Linked DNA regions of Homo sapiens: regions 2, 3 and 4 are each linked to region 1. Evidence: promoter capture Hi-C in 16 types of primary human blood cells and fetal thymus (Javierre and others, 2016). All regions are on one chromosome and are shown on one strand. The core of a region is centred on a gene start or on the middle of the fragment in contact, and the rest is flanking DNA. Distances in the headings are between cores, read along the strand shown. Region 1 holds the start of ZNF597 (zinc finger protein 597). Region 2 overlaps ZNF200 (zinc finger protein 200). Region 3 overlaps MEFV (MEFV innate immunity regulator, pyrin). Region 4 overlaps OR1F1 (olfactory receptor family 1 subfamily F member 1).

The links. Contacts are between HindIII fragments. The CHiCAGO score rates a contact against its expected background, and 5 or more counts as called.
Region 2: a contact is called between a fragment that was not itself captured here and the fragment with the promoter of ZNF597 in region 1, in 8 of 17 cell types (monocytes, fetal thymus, M1 macrophages and 5 more). The highest score is 8.1, in monocytes.
Region 3: a contact is called between a fragment that was not itself captured here and the fragment with the promoter of ZNF597 in region 1, in 12 of 17 cell types (total CD8 T cells, monocytes, total CD4 T cells and 9 more). The highest score is 9.0, in total CD8 T cells.
Region 4: a contact is called between a fragment that was not itself captured here and the fragment with the promoter of ZNF597 in region 1, in 10 of 17 cell types (erythroblasts, M1 macrophages, monocytes and 7 more). The highest score is 9.8, in erythroblasts.

What each region holds. Positions count from the first base shown.
Region 1 is chr16:3,441,569-3,445,160 of GRCh38, forward strand. It overlaps ZNF597 (zinc finger protein 597), which reads right to left and starts at 1,936. Exons shown (of 4, transcript NM_152457.3): 1 at 1,792-1,936; 2 at 1,553-1,638. The coding sequence starts at 1,585. It overlaps NAA60 (N-alpha-acetyltransferase 60, NatF catalytic subunit), which reads left to right and starts at 2,112. Exons shown (of 8, transcript NM_001083601.3): 1 at 2,112-2,269. RefSeq lists an enhancer at 2,196-2,345. The HindIII fragment of the contact is 9,083 bases long and covers 1-2,980 here.
Region 2 is chr16:3,220,598-3,224,074 of GRCh38, forward strand. ZNF200 (zinc finger protein 200) reads right to left here. Exons shown (of 5, transcript NM_198088.3): 5 at 1,728-3,477. The coding sequence ends at 3,295. Among named protein-coding and RNA genes, the nearest start is that of ZNF200, 13 kb to the right of the region's middle. The HindIII fragment of the contact is 4,719 bases long and covers 1-3,477 here.
Region 3 is chr16:3,241,743-3,245,058 of GRCh38, forward strand. MEFV (MEFV innate immunity regulator, pyrin) reads right to left here. Exons shown (of 10, transcript NM_000243.3): 7 at 2,731-2,846; 8 at 2,512-2,544; 9 at 2,118-2,150; 10 at 285-1,952. The coding sequence ends at 1,399. Among named protein-coding and RNA genes, the nearest start is that of ZNF200, 8.2 kb to the left of the region's middle. RefSeq lists an enhancer at 1,580-2,779. The HindIII fragment of the contact is 4,878 bases long and covers 1-3,316 here.
Region 4 is chr16:3,202,206-3,205,542 of GRCh38, forward strand. It overlaps OR1F1 (olfactory receptor family 1 subfamily F member 1), which reads left to right. Exons shown (of 4, transcript NM_001370640.6): 4 at 2,030-3,337. The coding sequence starts at 2,042. The coding sequence ends at 2,980. Among named protein-coding and RNA genes, the nearest start is that of TRP-AGG1-1, 12 kb to the left of the region's middle. The HindIII fragment of the contact is 1,050 bases long and covers 939-1,988 here.

The sequences.
Region 1 (3,592 bases), core at 686-3,185:
CCAGCTACTTGGGAGGCTGAGGCAGGAGAATCATTTGAACCTAGGAGAAAGAGGTTGCAGTAAGCCGAGATTGCACCATTGCACTCCAGCCTGGGCAACAAGAGTAAAACTCCGTCTCAAGCAGAGCTTGCAGTGAGCTGAGATCGTGCCACTGCACTCCAGCCTGGGCAACAGAGCGACACTCCATCTCAAAAACAAAAACAAAAACAAAACAACAACAAAAAAAACTCTGTCTCAAAAAATAAATTAAAATAAAATGAAATTAGCCAGATGTGGTGGCATGCGCCTGTAGTCCCAGCTACTTGGGAGGCTGGGCCAGGAGAATCGTTTGAATCCAGGAGGCAGAGATTGCAGTGAGCCGAGATCGCGCCATTGCACTCCAGCCTAGGCGTCGCAGCGAGACTGTCTCAAAAAAAAAAAAAAAAAGAAAAGAAAAGGAGAAAGTTGGGCAGCCCAGGAAGAATCATAAAGAGATAAAGGTTACAGGATTCTCCCAACATCCTTCCCTTTGCTATTTCCTCTCGTCCCCATGACACTCATTGCTAAGCTCACTCCAGCACTTCATCCAGGCCTACCCCACCTTCTCTAACGGTGTGATAAATTAATCACTTGGGATTTATTATTACTCAACGAGTGTGGAGTCTAGAAATGTGCTTAATTTAAAAATTCATTCAAATTGGAGAAGTACCAAATCTGTAATTTTGGGAACCATTCCAGAAAGTCACTTTTAATCCTAGCACTTTGGGGAGCCGAGGTGGGAGGATAGCTGAAGGCCAGGAGTTCCTTGGCAAAGCAGCAAGACTCCATCTCCATAAAGAAGTTTTAGGCCGGGCGCAGTGGCTCACACCTGTAATTCCAGCACTTTGGGAGACCGAGGCGGGCGGATCACAAGGTCAGGAGATTGAGACCATCCTGGCTAACACGGTGAAACCCCGTCTCTACTAAAAATACAAAAAATTAGCAGGGCGTGGCGGCAGGCGCCTGTAGTCCCATCTACTCGGGAGGCTGAGGCAGGAGAATGGCATGAACCCGGGAGGCGGAGCTTGCAGTGAGCCGAGATCGCGCCACTGCACTCCAGCCTGGGCGACAGAGCGAGACTCTGTATCAAAAAAAAAAAAAAAAGAACTTTTAAAAGTAGCCAGACACTGTGGTATGCGCGCCTCTCAGATACTCGAGAGGCTGAGGCGTAAGGATTCCCTGAGTTCCAGACGGAGCTATGATATCAGCACTGCACTCCAGCCAGACAAGCAACACTCCAGCGACAAGGCCAGACCCTATCTCCAAACAAAACAAAACAAACAGATAAGACATTGAGAAACTCTCTCAGAGATTCCTCCACAGGTCCCTGCTCCCAGTTGGTAGTTCTGAAAGAAGGAAGTTGGTAAACCATTATGTGTGTGGTCTTGGAACGAAGAACACTTGGTCAAAGGGCTATTTGGGGCTCAGGAGCACTCCTACCACAACAGGCATGCCCAACTCTCCTCCAAAGGAGGGGGTCAGGCAGAGACCGAAAGCAGCAATAAACTTGGACGAAAAAGGTACCTCGACTCACCTGGGCCTCGGGCGTCGGGGGCATGGACGCCATTTGGCGGGTGGGGAATGCCTTCTTCAAGACGCCACAGGGACTTCGTGACAAAGCTGCGGGGGGAGAGAACAGTTCTTAAAGGGACCAATTCCGCTGCCAAGTTCCTCCACTACCCCTAGCCTCCCTCGATTCCCTCCGAACCCCCCCTTAAAAACCTACGCCGACTGCTCCTCCTCTTGGCCCGGCCTCGAAAGGGGCCCACTTACCGCTCCGCGGTTAATAACAGGCCTCGCGCTCCCTGACAGGAGCTGCAGAAAGCGACGCCCGACCGAGACGCGACGAAGAACGCCACGGCCACTGCAAAACTCCCACGCTCTCATGCTCCTTTACGCAGGAGCTGCGGGAAAAGCCGCCGGAAGCGACCCGCCCTCAGCCCTCTCCGCCATCCTGCCCTTTGATTGGTCGAAGTTCTCCCGAAGGGGAAGTCCTTCTTTTGTGTTGACCAATTGAACACCTTAACCGAGGACCTGTAGCCACTGGGCAGCTGCGAGAGGTAGTTTTCCTCCTTTTCTCTAAGCAACCATTTCCGCTTCCGCTGGCGGGGTCTCCTCCGTGAGCTCCGGGCCTGTTTGCCTGCTGAAGTAGAGTCTTAGGGTGACCCCAGGGGGACGTAATGTTTCCGAGAAGAAGGACAGAAAGAAGACTGGGAGACACCGGAACTCGAAAGAAAATCGGTAACAAAATGTGGGTTCGGCCAACAGTGCCCTGTAGGCCTGAAATTTCGGTCTGGCCAGAGCAAGGTGATTGAGAGGGCGGGGGTTCGGGCCTAGCCTGGGCTTGAGCTGTCCTTTGTGTCTTGAGCGGATGGTGGGGCCGTGGAACATGAAGGAGTATCTTTGTGTACGTTCACAACGTTCACATCGGTGTAGGCCAGGTTGCTGGACTCTGACTCAAAGTGTTATAGAGGCATTACGTATTGTACCCGCAGCTGCAGCCTAAGCGAGCTGCTTCAGCTTCCTAGTCACAGGATCCCACGCGAGAATAGAGCCATAGGTTAGCGTCGCAGGACGTTGTTCGCCCCCGGATACCTCACATGCAGCCTACCCTAGAGCCAGTCATTTCCTATTGTGTGCTGGGGGAGGAGGGAGTGCCCTGGTGTAGGCATTTGGAATTGGAAAATTGAGCTCCTCCCCAAGCTCTGCCACTGATTGGTTGGTAATCTTGGCCAGTTTACAACTTTGCTTTCCTCAGCTGCAAACAGCTCAGAGTGCCTCTCTGGGCTAACTCAGAGGGTAATTTCAAAGATTATAAGATAATGTAAGTGAAAGAAATTGCCAGTTTATAAAGGTGTTTGGGGAAAAAAAAAGACGAAAATGATAGGTACCTTGATAGAAAAGCCTGAAAAGTCTCAACATATTTCCTTATTCCAGTGCCAGGCACATTCCTGTATCTAAAAGCTTAATGAATGGCTGCATGGTTATTAAAACAATATTAGGAGATTTGACAACTTAGGTAATGTGATTTTGTGGAATATCTGATAGGATAGTTTCAGCTACAAGTAACAGAAAACCCACCGAAAGGATGTTCAAAGAGCAGTTACAGGTTGGTTAATTCGGTGGCCCAGTGACAACATCAAGGTCCCAGTGCTTCTCTGCCACCCTAAGCATGTTGGTAACGTTGACAATAGAATCCAGGTAAAATATACAGACATGTATTGTGTCATGTACCCATCCTAAACTAGTTATTACCAAGAATAAATAATTGTTTGGGGCCCATCATGCTTCAGCCCCTGTCACTAGGGGAAGGACCTAGCCTCCCTTGATAATCTACCTGCACAAAATTAGGGCTTTGTTACAAATGAAAAAAAGAGATGTGGAAAATAAGTTAGATAAGAAACTAGCAGTATCTGCCACAAATGATATCTCTTGACAGCTAACTAAGAGCTAGACCTTGTGGGGATGGATCACAAAAGAGGTAGCTGTGAAGTCCCAGTAAAGGTGCTTCCAGGACAGGTGGAAGAATGGTAAGAACAAACTTGCCTACAGGCTAGACCAGTCCAAAGCATAT
Region 2 (3,477 bases), core at 8-2,507, 220 kb before region 1:
TTGAAATGGTATCTCACTCTATAGCCCAGGCTAGAGTGCAGTGGCATAATCTCGGCTCACTGCAACTCCACTTCCCGGGTTCAAGCAATCCTCCTTCCTCAGCCTCCTGAGTAGCTGGGACTACAGATGCCTGCCACCGCAACTGGCTACTTTTTGTATTATTAGTAGAGATGGGGTTTCACCATGTTGGCCAGGCTGGCCTTGAACTCCTGACCTCAGGTGATCCACCTGCCTTGGCCTCCCAAAGTGCTGGGATTATAGGCGTTGAGCCACTGCACTCAACCAAATCTTTTTTTTTTTTTTTTTCGTAGACAGGGTCTCACTATGTTGCCCAGGCTGGTCTTGAACTCCTGGCCTCAAGCCATCCTCCTGATTCGGCTTCCCAAAGTGCTGGGATTACAGGTGTGAGCCACTGCGCCTGGCTTATTTTCTGTAGTTACTACTGGAATTGGATCTTTGGTCTCTTACATTTTCCAACTCTCGCTCTACCGCTATATTGGGAAACTGTTCACTGTTGTTTACTTTTTCAACTTAACTGGTGATCAGGCTCCTTAGGTAACAGAACTTACTCATCCAACAACTTCCCAGGGGCTCTCGTGTTTGGGGGCGGCCCCTGGTCCTGGTCGGGGCGCTCCTCTCATTCCCACCCAGCCTCACTATTGCGGAAGGAAACCCTGCGGCCCATGTCCTGCCCTCTGGGACACTGGGTGCTGATTGACGGCAACCCTGACCGTGGGCACCTCCCCAGTCCAGGAGATGGTGTGGGTTGTGGTGGCTTCACCCACCTACACTTAAAAAAACAAAAAGCTACTCAGGAAGCTGAGGCAGGAGGATTGTTTGAGCCTAGGAGGTGGAGGTTGCAGTGAGCCAAGATCGTCCCACTCCAGCCTTAGCAACAGAGCCAGTCTCAACTAAAGAAAAAAGTGTCTCAGGTACCGTGCCATGGCTTCATGAGAACTGATGTAACCCCCGACTCTGGGCAGGGCTGCCAAAGAGTGAGAGAGTGGAGACTCTCTCTCACCACTCACTTCCTGGCAGCTACTTTTCTGGATGCATGGGCAGGTCCCCTACACATGAGATGGTGTGGGTTGTGGTGGCTTCACCCACCTACACTTAAACGAAAAGCTACTCAAGAGGTTGAGGCAGGAAGATCGCTTGAGCCTAGCAGGCGGGAGGTTGCAGCGAGCCAAGATCACCCCACTCCAGCCTTATCAACAGAGCCAGTCTCAAAGAAAAAATTAACTGTCTCGGGTACTGTGCCATGGCTGCATGAGGACTGATAAAATACCCGACTCTGGGCAGGGGTACCAAAGAGTGAGTGGAGACTCTCTCTCACCACTCACTTCCTGGCAGCTACTTTTCTGGGTGCACAGGCAGGTCCACTGCACATGGTAACAGCCTGCCGACTCTGGAAACACAGTTCAGGATCCCAGTCCTAGTGCACTGGTCAGACTTTCAAATAAGCGAATAACGTTGTGGGCAGCCTGTTTTGTTCGCTTTGCTGGCTTTACAGGGTACTTCCTGTTGGCCTGAAATACAATGTTGGTAAAGACAGTTTTTCTGTGGCCTTTCTCTGTTGTGGAGGATTTGTTGTTTTTAAATTACGATTCAGGACTGAACTGTATCATAGAATGTCCTTCTTTCAGAATGCTTTGTGCCAAAACAAGAAACCTCAGAATTACATGTTAATAACAACAAACAAAACAAAAAAGACCAATAGGCAGAAGGCAAGAAACAAAAACTATTCTTTGTAGATGGTGTCATTTTACCAAAAGTTAACAGAACTAAACCAACAAACTATTGAAAATTAACAACAGTGAGATGACTATACAAATATATAATTAAAAATAACTTTCCCATGTAAAAGCAATAATCAACTATAAAAATATAATGGAAAAAACTACAATAACAAAATTGTGTAAAACAAGTGAAGAAAATTAGAAAAATTTTCACAGGAATATAATACTCTAATAAATAGAAAGGCATGTTTCTGGATGGGAAACATACACTATAATTTTTCCCAAATAGCTTATAGGATTTCTTTATTCCAATCAAAACACCAATGTATAACTTTTGGAAACCTAAAGCAAGCAAAACTGAAGAATCCCTAAATCGCACCACACGATCAGTCCGTAAAGGCACCGCTGGCCTTGCTTCTAGGCAGAGGACAGGAAGGTATGGATATCAAGAGGCTGAAGACAATTAATACCCACTACAATGAAGACACCTGGAAACCTGTCTCTTGAGAGGCAATGTGAGCTAACCACTGGAGACGTAATTTCTAATCATACAACACTTTGCCTTGTGAGGTAGTGACCACCCCATTGCCAAAGGTCTGATGACAGCATAGAGGGGACCTAAGCATATGGTAAGGTTATTGATGAGACATGGATCCAAGCCAACTTTTTCCTGCCTCCAGGTTGACCCTTCCTCTCTGGGTCTTGGGGTTTCCTTCGTAGCACATGAGATCTGGGCTCAACAGAGGGACAAGATTCTGAAGAGCTTTTCTAGTGGTGGGGCTGGATGGCCCTGCCTGAGTAATCCAAACTTCTTTTAGCAAGGGAGAAGCATGAGACGGCTGCTGGAGAGATCAACAGCAGAACAAAATACAATAAGAACAGTAGACACCTAAATTATGTTGTGAAAAGGAATCTGTAAAAGTCAGTTTTATCACAAATTGTAAATATTATTGAAATTGATTGCAAATTTAGATCACATACAAATGAGAGTCTGACATTCAACTGTTTTCCTATATTCCAAAGTAAACAATTCCTTTCAACACTCAAGACTTAAACAGGTATTCTTAGAGGGTTATATGAATTGCTATCAGAAGCTGTTGGCTAACAAGCCAGTAATTTGGTTCTTTCACCAGAACACAGTTCCAGATAAGCATCTTTGCACTATTTCTCAAGTATGAATCCCCATGTGGGGGGAAAACGGATATACTTTCAATAGACACAAGTCACTCTTTGCCTTCCAAGTAAGCAGACTCCAGATTCATCTTCAAAGTGTTGGGAAAGGGGATCTGTGACCTGTACATTATCATATAACTTCAAAAAGGAAAGCTCCTTAGTCCAAAAAGCCTAGATGCTGAGGTATAGCCCTTGAAATGTTTTCTTCCCTGTGAATTTTCTAGCAATTTGAGGTTTTAGCTAAGATGGGCATTTATCCAATTTTGGCAATAATGAGATTTTTACACATTTATACCTTTTTAGGCAGCTTGGGAATTCAGAACTACTTATGAAAGCTCTCAGGTTGAGGCAGCACCATCAGACCCAGAAAGGGTTCCCAGTATTACTTCTGCTTTCGGGTCTTACAGGCTGAGTGGGTTTTCTCATGCCGGGTACAGTTTGACAGCCGACCAAATCTTCTCCCACATTTTTTGCAACCATATGGTCTCTCAGCCTCATGACTCTGCAGATGAAGCACAAACTCCTCATTCTTTGGGAAGGTTTTCCCACATTCTGGACACTTAAA
Region 3 (3,316 bases), core at 743-3,242, 200 kb before region 1:
AGGCGATCCACCCGCCTTTGCCTCCCAAAATGCTGAGATTACAGATGTGAGTCACCATGCCCGGCCCCTTTACATCTCTTTAAATGAAGGACAAATGCACGGGATGTGTGTGAAGTAGAACCTAATATTCCACAACCCGCAGATTTTCCCATACAAACCAAGACAGAATAATCTGACACTTGGAATACATGCCAAATGTTTTTCCATACAGTAGTCCCATCTGCTTCCTGAAATGCAGTCGGGAAATGGGATTCCACAGTGATTGAGTGACAAATGCAAATGACCAGATTTTCTAATTTTTTTATTCATGAGGCCCAGTCAATTCTCTTAAGAATCATGGCCCGGCATGGTGGCTCATGCCTGTAATCCCTGCACTTTGGGAGGCTGAGGTGGGTGCATCACCTGAGGTCAGGAGTTTGAGACCGGCCTGGCCAACATGATGAAACCTCATGTCTACTAAAAATGCAAAAAATTAGCCGGGCATGGTGGCGGGCGCCTGTAATCCCAGCTACTTCGGAGGCTGAGGCAGGAGAATCTCTTGAACCTGGGAGGCGGAGGTTGCGAGCCAAGATTGCACCACTGCACTCCAGCCTGGGTGACAAGAGCAAAACTTTGTCTCAAAAAAAAAAAAAAAAAAGAATCATAGGCCGGGCACAGTGGCTCATGCCTGTAATCCCAGCACTTTGGGAGGCTGAGGCGGGTGGATCACCTGAGGTCAGGAGTTCGAGACCAGCCTGGCTAACATGGTGAAACCCCCGTCTCTACTAAAAATACAAGAAAACCAGCCTGGTGTGGTGGCACGCACCTGTAATCCCAGCTGCTCAGGAGGCTGAGGCAGGAGAATCGCTTGAACCTGGGAGGTGGAGGTTGCAGTGAGCTGAGATCGTGCCACTGCACTCCAGCCTGGGCCACAGAGCAAGATTTGGTCTCAAAAAAAAAAAAAAAAAATCATAGTTCATTAATCCAGGTACACAAATACTTCTATCCCAATCCAGTCTGCTTGCGTTTCTCTAGGCTTCCCATATCCTCAAGACAGAAGCAGAGAGAACAAGGGGACATATATCCTTGCCGTGGGGTTCTGAGGGAAAATGAGGGCCAAATCTTCTGTTCAGGAGCACCTGAGAGTGCCACCCACCAGGGGCGGATTATGCAACGACTCCGTACTTCCTCCTCTGAAATCCATGGTGTGTCATCAGTACATGTCTTCACCCGGATTGACTAACATGTTCGTTCCTAACTTACCTCTGCTATAATCGGGTAGGCTCCGTGGGCACAGTAACTATTTTGTTATTTTTGCATTTCCCATAGCAGCTAGCACCTAGTCGGCATTCCGTGACTATTGAGTGTGAATGCAAGATACAAGGCCAGAAGCAGGAAGAGAGATGCAGTGTTGGGCATTCAGTCAGGCCCCTGACCACCCACTGGACAGATAGTCAGAGGAGCTGTGTTCTTCCCTCCATCACGTGTCCCAGGGCTGAAGATAGGTTGAAGGGGCCCAGAGAAAGAGCAGCTGGCGAATGTATAGATGTGGGATCTGGCTGTCACATTGTAAAAGGAGATGCTTCCAACTCTGTAGTCCACGAAGATGCCCACACGCTTGGGAGGCTCCTTTATTAGCAGGCGGGTCGGGGGAACGCTGGACGCCTGGTACTCATTTTCCTTCATCATTATCACCACCCAGTAGCCATTCTCTGGCGACAGAGTCATGTTCCCTTTCCTGCTTATGGATGTCTTGCAGGCTCCCAGGATCCATGCTGTCTTGTCTCCAACCTCCACCTCCCAGTAACGGCGGCCAGAGAGGAAACTCGGAGAGCCCAGAACAATGATACAGCTGTCAAATCTTTGCGGGCCATCAGGCAGCCTCTCCCACTTGTTTCCAAGTCTAACACTCTTCAGATCATCAGAGAAGATGAGGTTGGGGTAAGCGGTTTCTGCATCCAGAATCACATTAACTGCAAAGAAAATTTGAATACCTAGGTAGGGGTCCATGGGCAACATCCCTACAGGGTTCTCCCCACCTGCAGGAAACAGGGACAGGGTAGTTCTTCTGGAACGTGGTAGGGGAGAGCACAGGGATCCAGCAGGCCAGGGCCACTTGCCTTGATCTGGGCACTTACCAGCATGTGCCTGAGCGCCAATCAGCTCCGGAACTACGGAGAAAAATCAGATAGGGAAAAAAATCCTGAGCATTAGCATTAAGAGGGGCTAAATTACACTGTCCTGACAACAAGGAAAGACAAGGAACCCCCTGCTTAGGGCCCTGCATGCTATGTTGGGTATAATCCCGTTCCTCCCAGGAACCCAGGCCATGTTGGGGACTGTGGTCTAATGAGTCAACTCAGTCAATGAGTCACGCACAGAGCCTGGGGGGCCTGCCATGACCTTTCTCCTACCTTTGCTCCAGGTGTTTGGTTTTTTTTTTTGTCTTCTAAATAGGGCCCCTCAAGTCAACAGCACAAGGGAACACTGCAACAACCCCAGGCCAGCACACACCATTACCGCTGGACTCACCATTGAACATTTCCATTTCTGAACGCAGGGTTTCTAAAATGTGGGAAAGGGAGCAGAGAGAAGCTGGAGTTAGGTCCCTCAGCCAGGGACAGATGGAGGAGAGGTTGAAGGCAGGTCAGCAAGACCAGGGGAAGAGGAGGGAAGTGAGGGGCTCTGGGCTATGTGGATCTTAGGGAGGAAGTGAGCATGCACCTCCAATCTTCTCCCAAGCCCATCTACCTGAGAAGTACTTTGTGCTCTTCTCCACAAACTCTGACTTCTGGTGGAGGAGTTGGATCTTTTGTTTTATCTCTTGAGGAGTGGTCCACTTTTCAGGGACAGGCACTGTCTTAGCCCTAGAGACAAAAGACTGTTGACCAGAGAAGGCCGGAGCGAGGGGGTGGCCCAAGTACCCGTGAGCTGGAAATGAACTACATTCTCCACAGGGCACACCTAGCCCAGCCTGAGCTACACAAAGAAAAGTCTTCCCTGGATTCAGAGGTCTAAATGCTGGTCCTCAACTTTGGCCACAGACTGTCATGTACTGGGGTGCTTTAAAGACATGGATATCAAAACCACAAGGAGTTTTCAGAATGGACTTAAAATGACATTGATATTATCTACTAGAATTATCTATGTCAAATTGATTATACACCCCTTTCTTTCTATTGAAATAAAAAGATAATAAATGAAAAAAAAACACACACAACAAAATATCCCTTCACATCCATTAGAATGGCTATTATAAAAACAGCAACAACAGAAAAAAATAGACCAGGTATGGTGGCTCATGCCTGTAATCCTAGCACTTCAGGAGGCCGGGGCA
Region 4 (3,337 bases), core at 214-2,713, 240 kb before region 1:
GGAAGGATGTGAATTTGGAGCCACTGTTGGACATCTTGCTGCCACATGAGGAGAGGTAATCTGCAGAATGAAGCTGAGCAGAAGCCAATGCAGTAGTGAGATAGAGAAATACAGGGTCTTGATGTTATCATTCAGCTCCCTGAATTTGGTCTGGCCTGAAACACAAAGGCTTTGCAAGAAGACACCTTGGATTTTGTAATGACATTAACCTGTCATTTCTCCCTAGGCTGATATGAGTTGGTTTTCTATCGCTTGCAAATAATGTCTTTGCTAATTCAGTGTCCATTCTCCTCCTCCTCCCCAGATCTTTCGTAATTAGCTTTATGGGTTGTTTGTTGTTCTTGTTGTTTGTTTGTTTTTAAGACGAATTCTCGCTCTGTTGCCCAGCCTGGTGGGCATGGTAGTGCACGCCTGTAGTACCTTGCCTGGGCAACAAGAATGAAATTCCATCTCAAAATAATAATAATAATAATAATAATAATAATAATAATAATAATAATAACAATTTAATATCTTCAGCCTTCACCTAGTGGACATGGTCTTAGCCCAGTGCATTGATGAGGTTAAGAGTCACGAGATATTTAACATAAATTACCTAGTTTAGTTATTACAACCCTACAAGGTGAATATTATTTCTCCACTCTATAGATGATGGGAGCTGGTGATTCAGTGGAGGTTACTAGCTTTTCTAAGGCTATACAACTGGTAATGGTGGATCTGGAAATTGAGTGCTGGTCTGTGAAAATCCAAAGGTTATCTTCTTAATCCCAGTACAGCTTCACAGGTATCTCCCAACAAGATCAGCATCCCAGCTGGGTGGGGGATAAAATACAGGGTCGTGAGTTTCCTCTAGCAGAAGGATTGTTGCCAATGATTACCCCTTAGATTGCATCACTTTCAGTGTTGCCAAGTGCTGAGGCAGGAATTATGTATGACAAAGCTTTATCGTCAGTGTCGGACACAAAAGAGCCAAGGAGGGGAAGGGACAATTACTCTCTGCTTTTCTCAATGAGGCTCTCAGGGAATATGACCCTAGTGGCCATGGAGGCTCCTGTGAAGAGCTTGCCCTGTGATTCTTCCAAACATCCTTCCTGCATCAAGGGCTGAGTCTGTGCAGCCCAGCTCCTGATTCATGAGATACTCAGCCTCAAAGCTCCAGTGACGAGTCACCCTCCCTCAGACCAATAACCTCTGGCCAGGTCTGAAAAAGGGAAGCCAACCCAGGACTTCAGGAGACAGTGAGGACTGCTGCTCTTTCTGGGTAAGAGTCAGATCATTGGCCAGGTGTGGTGGCTCACGCCTGTAATCCCAGCACCTTGGGAGGCCAAGGCGGGCGGATCACGAGGTCAAGAGATAGAGACCATCATGGCCAACATGGTGAAACCCCGTCTCTACTAAAAATACAAAAATTAGCTGGGCGTGGTGGCACGTGCCTATAATCCCAGCTACTTGGGAGGCTGAAGCAGGAGAATCACTTGAACTAGGGAGCTGAAGGTTGCAGCGAGCCAAGATCTCGCCACTGCACTCTAGCCTGGCGACAGAGCGAGACTCCGTTTAAAAAAAGAAATAAAAAGAGTCACATCAGTGGGACTTCACTGATAACTGCTTGTCAGGACTTAAAGCCTCAGAGGGACCCTCCTTCCTTTCAATTATGTGGAGCCAGAAAAACAGTCCTGAGCTCAGCAGCAGTCCCTTGCAATCACCCAGTCAGGACCAGCCTCTGTCCCGTCTGTCTGACATCCTGAACTGTGGGGAACACAAACTGACTGAGTTTCTGCCCAGACCTCTGGGTTGTTCCATTTTAATTTTACAAATTGGACTCAGGGTGCTCCGTGGATATAGCCAAGAAGGCCTGGCTCAGACTTCTGTAAACCTGAGCCCTGAACATAGCAGTAGCAGCCCCAGCAGGGTTGACAATATTATCATTTACATCCTGCAAGCAAAATTCTACTGCCATTCCTGTGCCCCATCTTAACCAGCATTTTCCAAGCTTTTGCATTTCGTCTTCTTTGTCTGCCTCTGTGTCCAGGATCCCAGGCCCATGAGCGGGACAAACCAGTCGAGTGTCTCCGAGTTCCTCCTCCTGGGACTCTCCAGGCAGCCCCAGCAGCAGCATCTCCTCTTTGTGTTCTTCCTCAGCATGTACCTGGCCACTGTCCTGGGGAACCTGCTCATCATCCTGTCCGTAAGCATAGACTCCTGCCTGCACACCCCCATGTACTTCTTCCTCAGCAACCTGTCTTTTGTGGACATCTGCTTCTCCTTCACCACCGTCCCCAAGATGCTGGCCAATCACATACTCGAGACTCAGACCATCTCCTTCTGTGGCTGTCTCACACAGATGTATTTCGTTTTCATGTTCGTGGACATGGACAATTTCCTCCTAGCTGTGATGGCCTATGACCACTTTGTCGCCGTGTGCCACCCCTTACATTACACAGCAAAGATGACCCATCAGCTCTGTGCCCTGCTGGTTGCTGGATTATGGGTGGTTGCCAACCTGAATGTCCTTCTGCACACCCTGCTGATGGCTCCACTCTCATTCTGTGCAGACAATGCCATCACTCACTTCTTCTGCGATGTGACTCCCCTACTGAAACTCTCCTGCTCAGACACACACCTCAATGAGGTCATAATCCTTAGTGAGGGTGCCCTGGTCATGATCACCCCATTTCTTTGCATCCTGGCTTCTTATATGCACATCACCTGCACTGTCCTGAAGGTCCCATCCACAAAGGGAAGGTGGAAAGCCTTCTCCACCTGTGGTTCTCACCTGGCTGTGGTTCTCCTCTTCTACAGCACCATCATTGCTGTGTATTTTAACCCTCTGTCCTCCCACTCAGCTGAGAAAGACACTATGGCTACTGTGTTGTATACAGTAGTGACTCCCATGCTAAACCCTTTCATCTACAGCCTGAGGAACAGGTACTTGAAAGGGGCTCTGAAAAAAGTAGTTGGCAGGGTGGTGTTTTCTGTCTGATGAAATAATCAAGACTGAATCTCATTCCCAAGGAAATTTATTTTTCACCAATTGAGTTTAATGCAGTAGTTGTTTCATTAAATGATGTTCTTGCTAGTGACACACTTAGTAATTATACTAAGTTAAACTATTAATTATAATTTTTTTTGAGACAGGGTCATGCTCTGTCACCCAGGCTGGAGTGCAGTGCCGTGATCTTGGCTCACTGCACCCTCCATCTCCCAGGCTCAAGTGATCCTCCTGCCTCAGCCTCCTGAGTAGCTGGGACCACAGGTGTGTGCCACATGCCTAGCTAAATTTTTTTTTTTTTTTTTGAGACGGAGTCTCTCTATGTCGCCAGGCTGGATGCTGTTGCGG